Regions from separate parts of the Homo sapiens genome. Here region 2 is linked to region 1. The links are contacts of gene promoters, found by promoter capture Hi-C in blood cells and fetal thymus (Javierre and others, 2016). All regions are on one chromosome and are shown on one strand. Each heading gives the region's core, a stretch centred on a gene start or on the middle of the fragment in contact. The rest is flanking DNA. Distances are from core to core; before and after follow the strand shown.

What was found. Contacts are between HindIII fragments. The CHiCAGO score rates a contact against its expected background, and 5 or more counts as called.
Region 2: a contact is called between a fragment that was not itself captured here and the fragment with the promoter of MTM1 in region 1, in 4 of 17 cell types (non-activated CD4 T cells, total B cells, neutrophils and 1 more). The highest score is 8.6, in non-activated CD4 T cells.

Annotation. Positions count from the first base shown.
Region 1 is chrX:150,564,763-150,571,439 of GRCh38, reverse strand. It overlaps MTM1 (myotubularin 1), which reads right to left and starts at 2,819. Exons shown (of 15, transcript NM_000252.3): 1 at 2,778-2,819. RefSeq lists a silencer at 2,338-3,017 and enhancers at 4,302-5,223, 5,224-6,146. The HindIII fragment of the contact is 5,391 bases long and covers 1-4,709 here.
Region 2 is chrX:149,498,002-149,500,745 of GRCh38, reverse strand. It overlaps IDS (iduronate 2-sulfatase), which reads left to right. Exons shown (of 9, transcript NM_000202.8): 5 at 2,439-2,639. Among named protein-coding and RNA genes, the nearest start is that of IDS, 5.9 kb to the left of the region's middle. The HindIII fragment of the contact is 4,525 bases long and covers 1-2,744 here.

The DNA of each region.
Region 1 (6,677 bases), core at 1,570-4,069:
CAGAGTTAAGTACCTTGCCTAAAGTCACACAGATAATATTAGGTCCAGGATTCAAATTGGGGCAGGCTGCCCAATCCAGAGTCAAAATCTTCTAGGCAAATGACGGTCCCTATCCCCCACATCTGCCAAAAAGGAAATAAAGAACTAGAAAACTAGAAAATAATGAAAGCAGAACTTCAAAGAGGTCGAAAACAGGAAAGGAAAATTACTAAAGAATAATGAAAACAATCTATTATTCTGTTACAAAATCGAATAAACTTTAGAAATGAGAAACTCCAGCCTTTGAAATCCTCTGGTTACCCCTTTAAAATGTCACCTATTAATCGTTGAGAGTCTCCACTTTTCTCTTTATTTTGGAGCCCTCAATAAGAGCAAGAACCATGTGTTTTCAGTGGTTTCTAAGTAACTACATTTTGTTAATCTGCCTCTCATTTTGGAACAAAAAATATTAAAGTATTTTTTGTAACTTTAATTATTTTTCAGACCTGTAAAAGTTTAAAATTTTGCTTTGAAGCCATTGAACATACAGAATATGAGAGAACTTAGAAGGTATTAAACAGATGAACTTTTACAGTCAACTCTCATTAATGCCATTTTATTAGCGAGCACTCTTGTTCCTAAGAATGAGTGCTTCTTTTCTCTTGAGCTATTTCAAAATGAACTAGTTTCTTTACAAACCACACAAGGACTGATGATCATTTCAGATAAGAGGTTCACAGTACAAACCATTGCACAGGAAGAGAAACCCTTGTGCAAGGTAGCCTGAGAGTCCAGCAGACACCGGCATGAAATCAACAACCAATATTGACCTCAGCAGAGCTTTCTGTAGCTACAGTCAGCTATCTAACTATGAAAACAGCAAAGGATTTGAAAAATACCTCTCTAGGTATTTGAAATCACTTACTGTTTGCATGTCGGGGTGGGGGGAAATGTGAGTAAAAATGAGGCTGGGATGAGCTTACCATCTAAAAGACACTCATTGGAGAAATGATGACTCCAAAAAATCTCTTTGATTCAGAGATTTACTTTTGGATTTATTTCCTTTACTGGAGCAGCAGCTGGCAATCTAAAACTAGAAATTCAAAGTAATGCCCAAGTCATTCTCAATCATGCCAGCCTGTTTCACTGTCATTGTAAGGTTTCAGAGCTCTATTTTTTCTCATAGCGCTCATCTCTGCCAGAAAATATATCATTGTTTATTTTTTTATTGTGTGCCTCCCCACATATAAACTCTATAAGGCAGGGACCTCAGCAGTGGGGCTCTTTGCTGTCTTCCCAGTGCCCACCGTTGGCATTCTTGTGTTTGATGAATGAATGAAACCATCGACAACTTAATAAATGTAGTTAGAACTTTAAGTTAAAGAGACCAATCATTTACTAACTACACTAGAATCTACAAGCCCCCCGTGAATGTTATCCACCCTCAAGCACCCGGGAGGGTACTATACACTGGTGCTGCAGGCAGCACCACTGGTTCAAATCTCCCCCATGGTGTGGAATCTCTGAAAAGTAGATTTGATTTTGTGAAGCAGCCAAAAGCCATTCAGAATCAAATCTGGTGAATACATGATCGTGCCCAATATATATGTTGGATGAAGGCAAACGTGTCTGCAAAGTAACAGGCCTGATTGTCTTATTTGGTTGGTAAACCGATTTTGAAGGAAATTCAAAATGGTTTGCAGTCTAGCAAAATTGCTGGCTCAGTCTCAAGACTCTAAGGTGCTTATTTCACAAGGAATAATACTGAGCTGTGGTAAAAAGAATCCAGACTAGACAGACACCAAGATACCCCCAAAGAGCTGGCTTGTGATATTAGCTTTGCCATTAAGTTGCCCTGAAGCCCGGGACATATTAGTTACCCTCTCTGGGCCTCAGTTCCCCCATCCAGGAAACAAATGAACAATGTAAACTTCAGGATGCCAGTCAATTCTAAAATGCTATAATTTTATTCTTGTGAAGATCTGGTGTATCTGTTTCAAAACCAGTCGCAACCCACTTCGCCTCAAACGATGCGTGCGTCTATAAAGCTCTAATATAATTTTTGCAGCAGATTCACTTCTTACTTGCTTAGGCAAATACTAAAATTAGTTTTCACTTCCTGAGCGCAGCAAAAGACAGTTAAGGGAGGCAACCCGGCCACGGGCGCTTGCTCGTGCCTGTACATACTTCCGACTGCGTATCAGGGAACTAACCGTTCCCTCTAAGATCTTCCCTCAACTGTTGCAAAAGCAGATAAACCTCTCGTGTATGACACAGAAACACTGGCCGAGAGCGGCCATCGAGGCTTCGCGGCCAGTGCCGGGCTGCGGCCGCTCCGCAGGGCCCACCGGGGATGCGACGGACGCCCGCTCCGTGCGGAGGGCCAAGGCGAGGACCAGCCGCGGAGCGTCGCCGGGGAGGCAGGGCGGACGCCCGGCCCACTCACCGCCCCGGGACGGGGAAGCAAAGTCCAGGCAGTGGCTGAGACGTCCGCCCCCAGCTCCACGGCCAGCCAACCCCTACCCCCGTCCCGACCTTCGCCCGCCGCCGGCCGGCCACCTTGGGCGGGGAGAACGGGAGGAAGCCGGAGGTACCTGCCTGCTGCTCCCTGGCCTCAGCCCTGCCCCGCGGGGACAGCGACGGCGCTTGGACGAAACCCCCACCCAACCCTGACGGTGCGGCAAGGCCCCGCGCGACCCGCTGGCCCAAGGAGTCCCAACTTCCTCCTCCCGATCCCCTCACCACGGGTCCCCGCAGTGCCCGGCTCCGAGCCAGGCCAGCCGTGAGCGCGCACCCACCTCGGGCTCCGGGCGCCACCGCCGTTGCCAGGCTGCTCGGCTGCCGGGCCCTGCTCCGCCCCCTCTGGGGTCCGCCCCCCACGGCCTGCCCGCCCCCGGCCACCGCCCGCTGCCCGCCTCCCCGTGCCGGTTGGCGGGACTGCATCACGTGACGGGGCAGGGGGCAGGAAGAGTGCGCCGGGTCGACCTGGGGAGCAGCTCCGAAGGGCGGGGCTCTTCGCCCGAGAGGCTGCTGGGAAGCCCATTTTGAAGGGTCCGACGCATGGAGGCAGCTGGGAATTGTAGTTCGCAATATGGTGCTGGGGATGGGCGGGGCCAAGATGCCAGGGGCCATCCCTGTAAGGGAAGTTGGACTGGGCGCCGGGCGGAGGCGGCTGGGAAGCGTAGTCCCGGGACCCTTGTCTGGGTCTCCCCATTTTTCTTCAGTAAAGGGGAAATCCAGAGGGAAAACTTCTCTATACAAGACTTTAGCGGATGCCACTAAATTGAGCTATTATTGGGTACACAGGGTTGGCTGCGTAAAGTTGAGATAGTATAAGGGAAAAAGAAATTTCACTGACTCTGGGGCAGGATCTGCAATTCACAAACTCAACTAACAGCTGGGGTGTCCCTCAGCTGTGCCAGCACCTTTCCAAGAACGCAATTGAGACTTAGTGAACGGAAACATTTCAGTCCAAAATTCCTTCTACTTGTTGAGGTTTGGGTCAGACAACTATTGATACAGTAAAAAGAAAGGGACAGGAAAAAGAGAAGAAAGGCAAACTTCAAGAAGAGAATTCATTGTGTAATCAAATAAAACAAACAATCTGGGCCGGGCGCGGTGGCTCACGCCTGTAATCCTAGCACTTTGGGAGGCCAACGCAGGCGGATCACCTGAGGTCAGGAGTTCGAGACCAGCCTGGACGACATGGTGAAACCTCGTCTCTACTAAAAATACAAAAATTATCCAGGCGTGGTGGCAGGTGTCTGTAATACCAGCTGCTCGGGAAGCTGAGGCAAGAGAATCGCTTGAACCCGGGAGGGAGAGGTTGCAGTGAGCTGAGATGGCACCACTGCACTCCAGCCTGTGTGACAAAGCGAGACTGCGTGTCAAAAAAATTAAAAAAAGAAAAGACAACCTGGCACATAGAAAAATGAGCATAATATTCTTTGTACTGCATAATACTTATACGCGAGCAGTTCGAGTAAATAGGATGACTTTATCATGACCTGTTTTTTTTCTCTTGTATGTGTTAGTTCTCCAGCATCTAAAAACAGCATTTTACCTGATACCAGTGTATATGTGTACGTGTGTTTCTACATAGTCACACACATATACACATATATTCATATATCATTTATATATGCATATATATATGCTTTATTGAAGAGTCTAGACTTCTTAGAAGAGTAACAAAGCCATCCAGAATCCAACCCAACCCACTCTTTAGCCACTTCTCCCAGTGTGCCTCTTTTTGCTCTTCACCCCAAGCTCTGGCCTAGTTCCAGGGAACTTGATGCACTGGGTTTTTTCTTTCCTCCAGCCCTTTCCACTTGGTCCTCTCTCCTGGATTTGCCAAACTCCTGGAAAGACAGCAGAATAGCAGCTGCTCCTGGGCCCCCGCACAATTAGAAGTCTCCCCCACCCAGCCCTTCTTGTTGTACTGATGTCATCATTTGCTTACACGTCTGCTCTGCCAACTCCCCTCCCCAGACTATGAACTCCTTTGAATCTCATTCACTTTTGTGCTGAATTTCAAAGCACGCTCAGTAAATTTGCATGCTAGAGAGGCTCCCTGGTGGGCTGCTGAATAACTCTGGATTCCTGGTATCTGTGAATCTTAGGGCAGAGGGATAGAGGAAAATGGGGATGGGTGGAGGGAGGGCAGCAGCTGCCTGGGATACCTTGCATATAATAGGCCTGGTTAAGTGTCCCAAGATGAGGCCAAAGCTTTTCGATGGAGCTGGGAGGAGCTGGGGGTTAGGAGGTGGGGAAGGTGCAGAGCAGGGATGGTCTCATCCTAAGGAGGTAATTCCTGAAGATTTTTCCAGGGTCCAGCCCCAGCCCAGCCCCACCTCTAGAAAGATGCAATTCAACCAGAAAGGGCCAGTAGAGAAGATTAGCCTTTGGCCTGTGAAATGGAGAGAGTAACCCCTGCCGTGCCTGTCTCACGGTGTAGGTGCAGAGATCGAATGAGGCAACAGATGAGGAAGCACTTTGAAAACTGTAAAGGTTGTACACTATGGGCTGGGCGCGGTGGCTCAGGCCTGTGATCCCAGCACCTTGGGAGGCCGAGGCGGGCGGATCACTTGAGGTCAGGAGTTCGAAACCAACCTGGCCAACATGGTGAAACCCCGTCTCTACTAAAAATACAAAAAAATTAGCCAGGCGTGGTGGTGGGCGCCTGTAATCCCAGCTAATCGGGAGGCTGAGGCAGGAGAATTACTTGAACCCGGGTGGTGAAGGTTGCAGTGAGCTGAGATTGCACCACTACACTTCAGCCTGGGTGACAGAGTGAGATTCCATCTCAAAACAAACAAACAAACAAGGTTGTACACTATGGAGGGGTTACCGCCTTGCCCTTGGTGACATCGCTGTATTCTTGACTGAGCCTGCCCTCTTCCAGGCTGGGGCTGCACTCACATTTCAGTGTGTGTGTGTGTGTGTGTGTGTGTGTGTGTGTGTGTGTAGGAATCTTCAGGCTTCCCTGCATTTTGCACACATACACCCCCCCATCATGCAGGAGGCCTGTGAGAAGATGGCTGGCCTCCCTCTCCAGGGCTCCAGGACAATAGAGAGGAGGGGGCAATAGATGCGACCTCAGGCTGCTTCTTCCACAACCCTTCTGAGTAGCACAGCCTACACCTGTTTCCGCCCCTCTCCCCCAGAGTCCTCCCGCTTTTGCTAAGGCACAGGCTGGAGGGCTGGAGGCACCTCCTACCTTCAGAGGCTTCATCCTGTTCTCTGCAGTTGGGGGAGGCAGGCTAGGCAGCACCAGGAGGAGCCTGCACTCTGGATTTGGTTGGCTTCATCCCTTACCTCCACCTCTGGCCTCTCACCTCCTAGATAAGAAGCAGGCCCGAGCGAGGAAATGGCCTGTTTCCTGCTACTTCTCCCTTGGCCTCTATGCTCTGATCTCCCCAGTCCCCACTCCTGCCTCAACTTAATCCTACCAGGTTCAATGTATTGGGCCTGAGGCAGGGGAAGGTGGAGGAAAGGGAGGGGCATTCTTACTGAGGAAAGAGAAGGCTGAAGAAAAAGAAAATTAGGAATGAAAAATTTTAAATGTAGCTGTGGGTTACCATGCTCTAGCAGAAAGCACTTGGAACTAGGAAACCTGATTCAGGTCCCAGAAATTCTATAGGCAAGCTGTTGGCCTTGGGAAAGTCACTTCACCTCTCTGATCATTAACTGCTTCCTCTGAAAAAAAGGGGTTGAATGCCACCTCCCAGGGTCGTTGTGTCCCCTTGAGGATAGATGTAAATGTGATGTATAGAGTGTCAAGGCAGCAGAATTCCCAAGTTGCCACGGTGATCACTGGGGAGAGAGATGGGAGAGGATAGGGGGTAAGCCCCTGTGCACTGACACAAAGGTTCCAGGGTTTAAATCCTAGCTCTTCCATTTGTTAGGTGTGTGACTTCGGGCAAGTACACCTCTCCAAACCTCTACTTCCTCATCTGTGAAATGGGTTTTATTCATTAACTCCTTCATAAGCTTGTTGTGAAGCACATGAATGCCAGGTCTAACTTCTGAATCTAGGAGAACTGCAAAGCAGCTCTGCCTACCTCCTCCTCCCCAACCCCAGTCTGTATTTAAAAAGCAGCCTCAGCAGGATAGTGCAGCCCCTTTGGAAAATGGTTTGGCAGTGAATTACAAAGGTAAATGTACATATGGCCGAGCAATACTATTCCTAGGTATTT
Region 2 (2,744 bases), core at 245-2,744, 1.1 Mb after region 1:
TGGGTGCTACTTGTTCTAAAACCTTGGGCTCTAACGTGTCAGACTCATTGAATAGCTCCCCAGTGCTCACGCTGGATGAGACTGAGAGTTGTAGGAGATGCTGAGACATGGGAGGGAGAAAAGAGGCTGAGCTCCAGGAGCCTCAGCCCAGAATGGGAGAAAGGCATGCCGTGTATCTGTCTCTGACCTAATGTGTATGTTCAGCAGCTGAGACCTCTGATAGGGGTTTTGAATTTTTAGAGCATTATGAAAAAAAGTAACCTACAAAGAAAATCTTGGTTTAGAGGAATCCCAAATGTATAAATGAAACTAAAACCCACATTTAAGAAACTCAGAAAACCAGCTAGGGAACTGAGACATGAAATGTATCTCTGAGGTTTTAGTAAACATCGTGTTGGGAAGGGTGAGGATTTGGAAGTGAGGTGGAAGGTATTGTTCTAAGTTCTTGACAGCTTTCCATTTCAGAATACAGTGAAAACTGTGAGCTCTGGCCTTTGGCTTGTGGCTTGAATAGGGAAGATCCCATCTTAATTCCCTGAAGCCATCTTGCTTCTTTTTAGTGGCCTCACTTACGAATGCCAGGTCCCTGCCCTAACTGCCCCCTACCCATTTCTTCTCAAAGTGGTGGGTCTGACAATACTAAATCTCCCTCGAGTGCTGCAAATCGTGTATATATAGATGATGAACAAGTGGTCTGAGGCGGGTGCTGGGCTGTCCTGCCCAAGGGTGGGGTGAGCAAGGCAGGGCTGTGAAAAGGCAACACTCTTTGAGATGGAACAGCAGCTGACACAGCCCCTCGGTCTTTGTGGTATACAAATCATGGTCAGAACTAACTTTGGTCTCACGGCCAGCATGTCTACTTTAGGAAGCAAAGCAGGAGGTTTCATTCTGTGCCTAGTGTAGCTGAAGTTCTGGAAATTCCATGGACTGTCACCTTATCAAGTTGATTGGGACCCTGTCACTTACAAGCCTTAGCCTGTCTTTGAAATTTGAAATGGGTTTTTTTTTTCTTTTTAAATTTTTAATTAAAATAGAGTTCATATACCATAAAACTCTCCCTTTTGAAGTATATAATTTAATGGTTTTTAGCATACTCACGGAGCTATGCAGCCATCACCCAAATCGATCTTAGATCATTTTTATCGCTCTCAAAAGAAACCCTGTACCCATTACCAGTCGTTCCTCATTTTGTCTCAGCACCCAGCGTGGGACAACAACTGAACTATTTTTGGTCTCCATGGATTTGCCTATTTTGTCCATTTGGTATAAATAGAGTCATACACTATGTAGCCATTTGTTTCTGGCTTCTTTCACTTAGAATAATGTTTTTGAGGTTCAGCCACATAACAGTATAAATTGGTACTTCATTCCTTTTTTTTTTTTTTTTTGAGATGGAGTTTCACTCTTGTCACCCAGGCTGGAGTGCAATGGCGCAATCTCAGCTCACTGTAGCCTCCACCTCCCAGGTTCAAGCGATGATTCTCCTGCCTCAGCCTTCCGAGTAGCTGGGATTACAGGTGCCCACCACCACACCCAGCTAATGTTTGTATTTTTAGTAGAGACGGGGTTTCACCATGTTGGTCAGGCTGGTCTCGAACTCCTTACCTCAGGCAATCCACTCATCTCCCAGAGTGCTGGGATTAGAGGTGTGAGCCACCGCACCCAGCCTTTCATTCCTTTTTATGGCTGCATAATTGTCTATTGTACCACATTTTGTTTATCAGTTCATCACTTGATGGATATTTGGGTTGTTTCTACTTTTGACTATTAGGAATAATGCTGCCCTCGACATTTTTGTACAAGTGTTTTTATGGGCATATGTTTTTAATTTTTTTGGGTATAATAACTATGTTTAACTGTTTGAGGAATTGCCAGACTGGCTTTCAAAGTGGCTGCACTATTTTACATTCCCACCAGCAATGTGAGAGGGTTCTAATTTTTCTGCATCCTCGTCAACACTTGTTATTTTCCATCTTAAAAAATTATAACCATCCTTTTGGGTGTGAAGTGGTTTTGATTTGCATTTCCCTAATGACTAATGATGTTAGCCACATTTCCATGTTCAATTGGCCATTTGTATATCATCTTTGGAGAAATGTCTATCCAAATCCTTTGCCCATTTTTAATTGGCATTTTTTAATTGTTGAATTAGAGATGGATTTTTTTTTATAATTAGTCTATCGGGGTTTCTTTTAATTAGTTATGATCTGGAGAAAGAGTATTAGTAGCAAGAAACCAAGTGCTAGTGGATTTCTGGCCCCTGCCTGGAAAACAAGAAACACCTTTTCTGTCTTAGTTCTACTTCTGATGTCTCTGTTCAGTCTGAGTGACTAACACGTGAAGGGCTGATTATGTGAACATTAAATCTGTGTGTGTAGCCTTCATGGCTTCATTTCTTGCACTTAAAAAGCTGATGTTATATTATTTTGTTTTGAAAGACATGTCGAGGGCCAGATGGAGAACTCCATGCCAACCTGCTTTGCCCTGTGGATGTGCTGGATGTTCCCGAGGGCACCTTGCCTGACAAACAGAGCACTGAGCAAGCCATACAGTTGTTGGAAAAGATGAAAACGTCAGCCAGTCCTTTCTTCCTGGCCGTTGGGTATCATAAGCCACACATCCCCTTCAGATACCCCAAGGTGAAGAGCTGGTTGAGGGCTGATCCAGCACAGCTGTGACAGCTGTGTTGTTTGTTGAGGGAGGGATTTGCACAGGGAAGGTGGCTACATCCTGCCATCGCCAGG